Linked DNA regions of Homo sapiens: regions 1 and 3 are each linked to region 2. The links are contacts of gene promoters, found by promoter capture Hi-C in blood cells and fetal thymus (Javierre and others, 2016). All regions are on one chromosome and are shown on one strand. Each heading gives the region's core, a stretch centred on a gene start or on the middle of the fragment in contact. The rest is flanking DNA. Distances are from core to core; before and after follow the strand shown. Region 1 holds the start of H2BC12 (H2B clustered histone 12). Region 2 holds the start of H1-2 (H1.2 linker histone, cluster member). Region 3 has its middle 5.8 kb from the start of H2BC11.

Evidence for each region. Contacts are between HindIII fragments. The CHiCAGO score rates a contact against its expected background, and 5 or more counts as called.
Region 1: a contact is called between the fragment with the promoter of H2BC12 here and the fragment with the promoter of H1-2 in region 2, in 17 of 17 cell types (total CD8 T cells, naive B cells, naive CD4 T cells and 14 more). The highest score is 29.0, in total CD8 T cells.
Region 3: a contact is called between a fragment that was not itself captured here and the fragment with the promoter of H1-2 in region 2, in 1 of 17 cell types (erythroblasts). The highest score is 5.1, in erythroblasts.

Annotation. Positions count from the first base shown.
Region 1 is chr6:27,145,424-27,149,016 of GRCh38, forward strand. It overlaps H2BC12 (H2B clustered histone 12), which reads right to left and starts at 1,432. Exons shown (of 1, transcript NM_001312653.2): 1 at 938-1,432. The coding sequence starts at 1,375. The coding sequence ends at 995. H2AC12 (H2A clustered histone 12) reads left to right here and starts at 1,683. Exons shown (of 1, transcript NM_080596.3): 1 at 1,683-2,139. The coding sequence starts at 1,706. The coding sequence ends at 2,092. It overlaps MIR3143 (microRNA 3143), which reads left to right and starts at 2,203; the gene lies at 2,203-2,265. RefSeq lists enhancers at 330-439, 859-1,775, 1,030-1,489, 1,820-2,069. The HindIII fragment of the contact is 2,078 bases long and covers 245-2,322 here.
Region 2 is chr6:26,054,811-26,058,041 of GRCh38, forward strand. It overlaps H1-2 (H1.2 linker histone, cluster member), which reads right to left and starts at 1,660. Exons shown (of 1, transcript NM_005319.4): 1 at 930-1,660. The coding sequence starts at 1,618. The coding sequence ends at 977. RefSeq lists enhancers at 141-762, 1,173-1,222, 1,313-1,712 and a silencer at 613-682. The HindIII fragment of the contact is 9,556 bases long and covers 1-3,231 here.
Region 3 is chr6:27,125,212-27,128,803 of GRCh38, forward strand. No RefSeq gene overlaps it. Among named protein-coding and RNA genes, the nearest start is that of H2BC11, 5.8 kb to the right of the region's middle. RefSeq lists enhancers at 1,836-1,885, 2,096-2,165, 3,188-3,347. The HindIII fragment of the contact is 5,241 bases long and covers 1-3,592 here.

The sequences.
Region 1 (3,593 bases), core at 182-2,681, 1.1 Mb after region 2:
TTCACTTGGTTCTTCCAAAAAAGTTTCACACTGCTCATCACCGGCATAGTCATTCTAGCCTCTAATCACACAATAAAACCCACCACCTAATTCTAACCCACCACCTAACACTTAGCTCAAACCCTGTGCTGCTGGGGAAGTTCCCTTCTCCTCTACTCCAACTTCTTGCTTCGGGGCGGACTGTCTCTAGTCTGTCTGTTGTCTCCCCTCTGAATCTACTTGCTTTTCATTTTCCTTTTCTATAAGCTTTCTTGTCAAAAGGAAAAATTACTGATTGGACCAATTGACGCTGAACATGCCTTAAAAACTAGTAAACTATTCCAAAAATCTCCGTGATGATTTCATGTTCCGTTTCTTCACTCCTGAGAAAAGCTGTGCTCCTCCCCTTACCCTTGCAGACTATCCTGCCTGGTGGTCTGGCATCTTCCCGATGTCCCGTGGGCTGCAGAGATGGAATCAGGGGGTGAGGGGGAAGCAAAGCAAGGCAGAGCTGGGTACAGCCTAGAAGAGGTTAAATAAGGTAACTGCTCGAGCGAAAGCCATACGTACTGGAACGCCATCGGGAACCAAATTTACTAATATATAAACTCACGTTAGAACGCCATTACATGGTGGAAAGTACACGTGACACAATAGGCTTTCAACAAGTTCTAACAGGAAGTCACAGCACTCGACACAACGGAAGTATCCATTTTCGCGCCAAGAGCCAGGAAGCACTTTCTGTTAACACAAGTTTCCTGCACATCCCTAATTTTTTAGGCGCCATATTCCTCACTCAGTACTAACAAAGTGTATGTGGCTTCTCCTTAGCCAGACTCGATTACAAGCACTGCATGCATTACTCAGTGTGATAAGATCATGATAATCCCTTTAAAAAGATCGCCCGAATTTAAGCCTGGATTAGGAACACGTGTTTACAGCTCTAATATCGATAATTTAAGTGGCTCTTAAAAGAGCCTTTGGGGTTGGGCTTTAAGACGCTTACTTGGCAAGTTTACTTAGCGCTGGTGTACTTGGTGACGGCCTTGGTGCCCTCGGACACGGCGTGCTTGGCCAACTCCCCGGGCAGCAGCAGGCGCACGGCCGTCTGGATCTCCCTGGAGGTGATGGTCGAGCGCTTGTTGTAATGCGCCAGGCGGGAAGCCTCACCCGCGATGCGTTCGAAGATGTCGTTGACGAAGGAGTTCATGATTCCCATGGCCTTAGAGGAGATGCCGGTGTCGGGGTGGACCTGCTTCAGCACCTTGTACACGTATACGGAGTAGCTCTCCTTGCGGCTGCGCTTGCGCTTCTTGCCGTCCTTCTTCTGCGCCTTAGTCACGGCTTTCTTCGAGCCCTTCTTGGGCGCGGGAGCGGACTTCGCTGGTTCCGGCATGTTGAAGGCGAACTACGAGCCTGAGACGAGCAGCAGATCGAGAAAACGGGAAGTAATGGGAGCAAGGTACCAGGAGTCGTTTTTATATAGGACCTCTCATGCAAATAAGGTGAAGAGTGAAAGTCCTGTATCTGATTGGTGGTTATTAGGGTGACGTCAGAGGTTAGTTATACCCAATCAACCCAATCTGCAAATCCAAAAGACGTACTTCCATTGGTTAAAACTAAGCTACAACCCTAACCAATGACATATCTTCTTTTTCGCGCCCAATAGTGTTTATAAAAGGCGCTGCCTTTCCTCGTTGGCTACTTTCAGTAAGTTGTGACCAGTATGTCTGGACGTGGCAAGCAAGGCGGTAAAGCTCGCGCCAAGGCCAAGACCCGCTCTTCTCGGGCTGGGCTTCAGTTCCCCGTGGGCCGAGTGCACCGCCTGCTCCGCAAGGGTAATTATGCCGAGCGGGTTGGAGCCGGCGCGCCAGTGTACCTGGCTGCGGTGCTGGAGTACCTGACCGCTGAGATCCTGGAGCTGGCTGGCAATGCGGCCCGCGACAACAAGAAGACCCGTATCATCCCGCGTCACCTCCAACTGGCCATCCGCAACGACGAGGAGCTCAACAAGCTGCTGGGCAAAGTCACCATCGCGCAGGGTGGTGTCTTGCCCAATATCCAGGCCGTGCTGCTGCCTAAGAAGACTGAGAGCCACCATAAGGCCAAATAAGGAGCGAGGTTGTGAAAACTGGAAAACAAAGGCTCTTTTCAGAGCCATTCTACACTGTCTTAGAGAAAGCTGGACACAGTCATGTTTGTTTCACTTCATGTTTGCTTCGCTAGATAACATTGTAAAGCGCTTCTTTCGCGGTTGGGCTGGAGCAACTCTTTACAATGTTTCTAAATTAACCCACTGGAAAGCAATGAAGACCCAAAAGTTGTTGTAGGATACTCCGGAGAAGCTTATTCAGCAGGGGTAATAAGTGAAATCAAACGTACAAATCCCTGAAATCTATTTACTAATTCCAGTGGTTTTTTTTTTTTTTTTTTTTTTTTTGAGATGGAGTCTCCAACAGGCTGGAGTGCAGTGGCGCGGCGCGATCTCGGCTCACTGCAACCTCCACCTCCCAGGTTCAAGCGATTCTCCTGTCTCGGCCTCCCGAATAGCTGGGATTACAGGCACACACCACCACGACCGGCTAGTTTTTTTGTATTTTTAGTGGAGACGGGGTTCCACCATGGTGGCCAGGCTGGTCTCGAACTCCTGACCTCAGGTGATCCGCCCGCCTCGGCCTCCCAAAGTGCTGGGATTACAGGCGTGAGCCACAGCGCCCGGCCTCCAGTGTAATAATTCTATTACATTAATAGTGTTGTCAAACAGCCATAAAAATGGGATATACTTGCCATTCTTTAAAGGCAAATTTTGCAATTCTAAGTATTCTTGAAAAGCAAGAAAGGGCAGCCTGATTCTTAAGTGGTCTAACTCTTAAGAGTAACTTTACCCAGGTGATGAAAGTCTAGTGACTCATTTGCATTAGAATTTGATTCCGATGGAAGGAGAATATGGGATGCAGAATTTCCTGAATCCCATATTTGTAAATCCTTAGTCCCATTTCTTTGGAGCAGGTGTATTAATGCACTCTTGTAGTAGCTTAGGATACAACATAGCTTTTTCTGTCTAGCTAATTTGTATTATCAAATTTATTAGATCGGGATTGCTATTGCTTTTGATTGCTTGTCCACATTAATTTACCTACCCTAGGAAGCCCTATGAGTTTCCTTCCTCCGCCCCACCCCCTCTTGATATTACTTGGCCTGCTTTTACTTCATAGCCTCAAGGCTTTCTGGCTATTCCCACAAAATGCCAAACACATTTTCTGTCTTAAGGCCTTTGCACTTTAAATTCCCTCTTCCCCTGATAACTACCTTTCTCACTTTTTTTCAATCTATGTAGGTCTCTGATCAAGTAACACCTATAAAGAGGTCATCTTTGTTTATCTCCTCTCTAAAATGGAGGGCCCCATTACGCTCTCTATGCCTATGGGGATAGGATATATATTAATTGAAATATTACATGTATACATCTTTATTTTTTCTCTACGGAATTCAAGCCACTTAAAAAAGACACCAAAAAATAGTATTAACTTTATGTATTTCACAAAGATTTAAGAGGACATAGTTTGTAATTCAATACACATAGATTTGTTTGCTACTCCCAGTCTTTGCATGCA
Region 2 (3,231 bases), core at 410-2,909:
CTTCATAGTTAATAGTACAAATACTGTTTTCTGCATAGAAACATTTGGACTGCCAAACAAAATACGTTTAAAGGAACTTCGATTTTTAAATGTTGCTGTCTGTCTAAACAGGATAAGCAACCGTAGTCATGCGAGGACAAAATGGCTGGCTAAAAGTTGTGCTTTCGATACGCTCAAAATCGATACGCTCAAACCTGTCAGTTTAGCGGAAGGCTACATGTTATGTGGCACAAAAAACTCCCTAGGTCCACGATTGCCTTGGGTGGAGGAAGGGCTATTGCCGCTGTTGTGGCTGTTTTTTAAATGCATTCCTTCGTTGCCACAGGAATGAGAAATTAACAGCAGAGGAATGTAGGACAAAGGTACCTGCACGCACTCTCCTCCCAGGGCTGGATGTTGCCACTACCTCCAGGAGACATCAACTTGACTACCAACAACATGGAAAGCGTCCGAAATCCCAGACATTAATATAAAGAGAAAAGAGGCAAAACTTTTAAGTCACAGTAAAGCAAAAAACACAGAATAAGCAACGTCTTCCACCATCCAATTAAATACAGAATGAAAGTCATGTACTAGAAGAACGGACCAACCCGGGAGCAGGGCGGGACTTTTGAAAATTTTTTAGTCCAATCCGGACATCCCTTTAGACTAAGAAACTGGCTCTTGTTTTGCGGTCTTTTCTGCCGTTCACAGGCCTGGGGCGGGACTGCCATCCCAAAACCATCCGCCAGCGAGAAAAGCCTCCGGTCAGGGACCTAGAAGCCGCAATAAAGGTTTAAATGCTGTAACCTCACCACGGCCACTCTCCAACCCCGTCACCCAATTCGTCTGATACCTCAGTAACTCCCATACGACTAACCTTAAGTAACAGGGCAGAACAAGAAAAGGCAGATAGTAAAGAAATTATCCAGCTCTTTTATTGAGATCAGTGGTGGCTCTGAAAAGAGCCTTTTGGGTTTTAGAAGTAGGCGTTCGCCTATTTCTTCTTGGGCGCCGCCTTCTTAGGCTTGACAACCTTGGGCTTAGCGGCCTTGGGCTTCACAGCCTTAGCAGCACTTTTGGCAGCTTTCTTGGGCTTCGCAACCTTGGCCTTCTTTGGGCTCTTAGCCACTTTCTTGGTTACAGTGGCCGCGGCCGGCTTCTTCGCTTTCTTCGGTGTTTTCTTAGCGCTCTTCTTCGGAGTTGCGCCGCCAGCCGCCTTCTTGGGCTTCTTGGCTGCCCCAACTGGCTTCTTAGGTTTGGTTCCGCCCGCCTTTTTAACCTTGGGCTTGGCTTCCCCGGAGGCTGCCTTCTTGTTGAGTTTAAAGGAGCCAGAAGCACCGGTGCCTTTCGTTTGCACCAGAGTGCCCTTGCTCACCAGGCTCTTGAGACCAAGTTTGATACGGCTGTTGTTTTTCTCCACATCATAGCCGGCGGCAGCCAACGCTTTTTTCAGAGCAGCCAGAGAAACTCCGCTACGCTCTTTAGAGGCGGCCACAGCCTTGGTGATGAGCTCTGACACCGGGGGACCAGACGCCTTACGAGGCGTACCCCCAGCCTTTTTGGCCGCCTTCTTCTTTACAGGGGCCTTCTCCGCAGGAGGCGCGGCAGCGGGAGCGGCAGGAGCAGTCTCGGACATGTTGAGAATCAAAAACTCGGGTACAAGTGGCAAAGCGCCGATGAAGCAGCGCCTGGGCAGGGCCGCTGTATATATAGAGCGCAGGCGCGCTCTGATTGGTGCTCTGGTCGCCCGCCTGGCTGGCAGGCTCTGAGCCGCTGCGCTGCTCCCAAGTTGTGTTTGTTCCACCTCACAAAAGGGGAAAAATATTAAAATTCCCCGCACCAAATCACTTGGGTTTGGTCAGGAAAGGATCTCAGAAGCCTCGGGCTTCATGCTCTTCATTTATTTTTTCCACAAACACAAAAACAACGCGTCCAGGCGTCCCCAATTCCCCCAACTCCGAAGGAAGTCTGGGGCAGTCAGAGACCACTTTCTGTTTTTCTTATAAATTACCTGTTCGCTCCTTTGCCCCTGAAGGTTCTTTTTCCCAGGGGTGGTTGGGCACATGCTTCCCTTATTTTTGAAGAAAAAAGCGAAATGGTTTCCACCTAAATTTTCATGATAATTCTGTTTCTTCACAAGGGAAGTAACACAGGTCCTCTGTGAATTCTTCGTGCAGTCGCACAGGAACTGTGGACTGGGACAAGGATTCCACGGCCAGTCCAAAGCAATTAGGGCGGGATGGGAGGGGGTTCATGAGCCTTGCTAGGGTCCGGGGTGGTGGGGGGCTACAGACTTAAATCTTTGATTTGAAGACATTGAAACTATCAAATCCCTCTTTTCATAGATGGGGGTGGGGCATCCTTTTCACTTCTCTACAGGCGAGAAATTGGGCTCTTTTTAAAGAGCTCTGAGGTCCCCCTCTGAGTTGTGTAAGGCAGGAGGTCTGGCCCTCAAGATAGAGATCATAAAGGAACAAGGGAGAGCCCTTAAGCCTGCAAAAAAGCCAATAGATTTGGCAGTTAGAGGCACTGAGATAATATGTTTTCAAAGAAAACAAGCATTTTTTATTTATTTATTTTTGTACGCTGCAATATAGAAATGAATTTCAGCCCATGAAAATTGTAGGTTACTTTCAGTAACCATACCTTACGCAAGTTACCATATAGGACAATCTCCAGTTGGGAACTCAAATATATCTTTTGAGTTGCAAATAAAGCAACTGACTTTAATAAAACACACTCTTGACTTTTAAGATGAACAATGTATTTGAAATTTATTTTTTTAAATAGCAAAATTTAACACAGAAAGACAAGAAAAGTACCAGAACATGTAATTTATTATAAGATCTGTTGTTGATGAGCTGAAAAATCACCTCTTCTCATCCCCTCTGAAACTATTCTGTTCTAAAGTTTGCTACTTTAAGGTTCACTACTTCTTATTTTACTCTCCGACCCCAAGTAATTGCTATTTTTTTCTTGAGATTAAAGGCAAAGTAAATTGTCTGCCCATATATTTGATATAATTATAGATTCATATTTAGGGACAAAGGTAATATTACAACTCCCCAACAATTTCTGCTCAAATATATGTTTTCATGAAAATATGTGTTAAAGAGAACAGCCTTAGATTGTGGGAAAGTCAAAAGGGAACCTACAAATAAGAGTTCAATGACAAATGAAAAGTGAAACATCTTTTAGACTAAGGGTGACCCCATTGTTTTATTAAATAACATTTGTCCAACATTTGTA
Region 3 (3,592 bases), core at 431-2,930, 1.1 Mb after region 2:
CTCAGGCCATGTGGTTGCAAGTGCAGATTTAAAATAAGGAGAAATCTAGGCTAGAAACAAGTTTGCCAGCATTCATCCTTTCAGCTGTACTACGTCACCTACTCTGCACTAGGGCCAGAGAGGAAACAATGGCTGGTGAAAGAGCAACTGATATTTCTGAAGGCGGGAAGACATAAATAATTAGAACAAAAGAGAGGGTGAGCAAGGAATAGTGTTGACAGCGCAGCCCTCAAGTCTTGGGTCCTTCTAAGTGCAGGATGGAAAAGGAAGCATTGATGATACATAAATTCTTACAAGCCAATGTTTCTCTTCTAGGAGAAATGGAAACTCAGAAATCAGTGCTCTCAAAGAAGGGAAATTAGGTATGATTTCTTGGGAGCCACAACCCAACAAGGCTTTCCAAATAATACAGTCCTGAATTTGAGCCTCAGAGAAGGCAGGTATATTTTCAAGTCATGCACTGTATCAATTGCCTTTTTTTGGTACATAAAAGAAAATACTGTATATGCTAATAATCATTAACAAAAAAACATTCAGGTAAAAAGAAAAAATCTGAGTTTTAACAAAACTGAAAAACACTCAGAAGAGGACTATATGGAATGACAATTTGTTTTTCATCTTCTGGATCATCCCCTGAGGAAAGTAAAGAAATTTCCCTCAGGATATTCCAGTTGGCAACAGCAGAGCAGAGGAATATTACTTTATTCATTTATTCAGAGAAGTACTTTGCTGGGCACTGTTCTAGAAGCTGGGAAATACAAGTGATCAAAATATAACCTACCCCACAACTCCCAAATCCAGCTCGAAAAAACTTTTAGTGTGGAGGATGGGATAGTAAAGATAATAAGCCAATGAATAAGGAAAACATAGCATTTCAGATCTTTATATTATGATAAAAAAAAAAAAGTCCTAAATTGGAACAGGAAACACAGATGGGGTGGCTCAATTACAAGACAGCAGTTAAAGAAGGCCTCACTGACAAGATGAGTTCCCAGTGTCAGGACCCCAATATCCTTCCTTACAAAGAGTGGGGATCCCACCCTAGAAAAGGAATAGCAGTTCAGCCACCCCACAGCAGCTCTGGCATGGCTGTTTCTGGATACCTTCATGGAGAAATGCACACACTGCCCTTCATTTCAAAGATGAGCATCAGTCTCGTCTTCAGAGAAGATGCAGCCATTGTGGGGTTAGGGTTTCTCTCCTCAGGTCACTAGTGTAGATGCGCCTGCTGAGAAGTTTCAGCCACTCCACCTGCAATAAGAAAGACAGTTAATGAGAAAAGCAAGAGACAGAACCTGTGAAGAACATGTGACCATCAGTCATTTGAATGAAAGGGGGCAAATGTGAATGAAAGGGGACACATTTGTTTATTTGTGTTTGTATAAAGATATTCCAGACAGGTACACAGGAAACGAATAAAAGTGGTTAATTGTAGTATATCAAAGATAAAACACCAGGCCTTACTTTAAATGACGAAAACAGATTTTATTTAGTAACCACTGACAGTGGGGAACCATCTGGGTTTCATAACTGGCACATATCAAAATCAGGCTCCACTCCTACCAGAGCCTGGGAGACGAGGGCCCTATCTTCAGACGTTGACTGAAACAAACAGTAAATTCCTTTGGCGGCATCAATTGAGTTTTCTCAGGCAGGCACTTGAGAAGACCGGGGCTATTAGTAACTATGTTCGGGTTTGTTCAGGTCTTTATAGACCAAGGTGGCCACCTAGTCCAGAAGAGGGCTCAGAAGAAGCCGCCTAGAGTTTGGTCAAAAAGAGAATCTTTGCCAAGTAGATGGGGGAACTGGGCGGCTGGGGGCTGTTGGGGATGTGATGGTTTATAGTATTTCTTGTATATTCAATTATTAAACCGTAGCAATGAAATGCCTAATCGAAATCATAAAACGAAACAAAGTTTTGGCTACATTAGCCTATCCGTTATTGCCATAAGATGGCGACAGCCCTTCTCAACTCATAAAACTAAACAAAGTTTTAGCTACATTATCCCATCCATTATCGCCACAAGATGGCGATAGCGCTTCTCAACTCGCCTGCGGGACGGAGGCAGGGTGCGGCCCGGAGAACTCCTCCCTGTTCCAACAGCAGCTCTCCAGCCCGCAGCGCTTCCTGACGTTCCGTTAGTTCAGTCTCCTGAACTTCTCTGCATGTAGATTCCTCTCAGGGTAGCCCTTTGTTGACCAAAAACGAAATATGTTCACTGATTTGGCCAGCTTTTTTTTTTTTAACTTTTTTTTTGGAGGGGAAAGGGAGTGGTCATGGACATCCTGAAGCAGACACAAAAATATAGAGAATCCTGCACTTCCCAAGTCTCGTCGCACAGGCTTCAACAATTACCAACATCTTGCCCATTTTGTTTCATTATCCGCACCCACACTGACAGATGAGGGAGTCTAAAAAATATCTGAAACATGAAATCCCAAATATGTGATTTTAATCATGAATATTTTCACAAATATCCTAACAGATATGGATATAAAGAAAAAACGCTAAGATTTTACACCTAAGAAAATTTAAAAAATGATGTGTAACATTATCCAATACCTAGCCCTTAAAGAAAGAAAATCCTGAATTGTCTCAAATATTTTTATATTTTGTCTGAATGAGATCCCACCAGATCCAAATATGGCATTTGATTGCTGTTCCTCTTGAATGTATTAAAATCCATAGATTTACCCAAGTCTCCAAGTAGCCTGACTGCCCTTTGAAAAAGGAATTGAGACCATAATCTGGGTGGGAATTCTCACTGATCATGGATTGTCATTGCTTTTAAACCATTCTTTGAAAAGTGTTGGGGAAAAAATATTTTGTTTTCTTTCTTTTTTTTTTTTTTTTTTTTTTGAGACAGAGTCTCTCTCTGTTGCCCAGGCTGGAGTGCAGTAGCACGATTTCAGCTCATTGCAACCTCTGCCTTGCGAGTTCAAGTGATTTTCCTGCCTCAGGCTCCCAAGTAGCTGGGACTACAGGCACGCACCATCACGACTGGCTTATTTTTGTATTTTTAGTAAAGACCAGGTTTCACCATGTTGGCCAGGCTGATCTCTAACTCCTGACCTTACGTGATGTGCCTGCCTCAGCCTCCCAAAGTGCTGGGATTACATGCATGAGCCACTGCACCCAGTCAAAGGTATATTTTTTATGAGACTATTTTTAAAAACACTCAAATTGTCTGTCACAGCTCCTTGCCTATGCCCCTAAAAAGAGAGGGGAGGAGTGGGGGAAGGGGGGGAAACAGAAACAAAAAGAAAACTGACAAACAGAGGAGGAGTCCAAAAGCCCAACACCCATTAAGTCAAGACTTCCCACAGTTCTCTAAGCCAGCAAATGAATGTAATTTAAACTGCTTTAAACTTCATATAAAAATAAATCATTTTTGGTAAATCAATAAACAGAGGCATCTCCATGACTACTGGTGGGAGTATGTACTCCTCCTTTTCTAAAACAAAAAAAAACAGCAGGGAGCCCTGAGTTGGAAACATGAAAAGCATAACTTTTTTGAGTTGGCTATTATTAAGTGTAATATGAGAGGTACCACTCCATTCCTACCTCTCCTTTCTTTAACGAATGCATTTT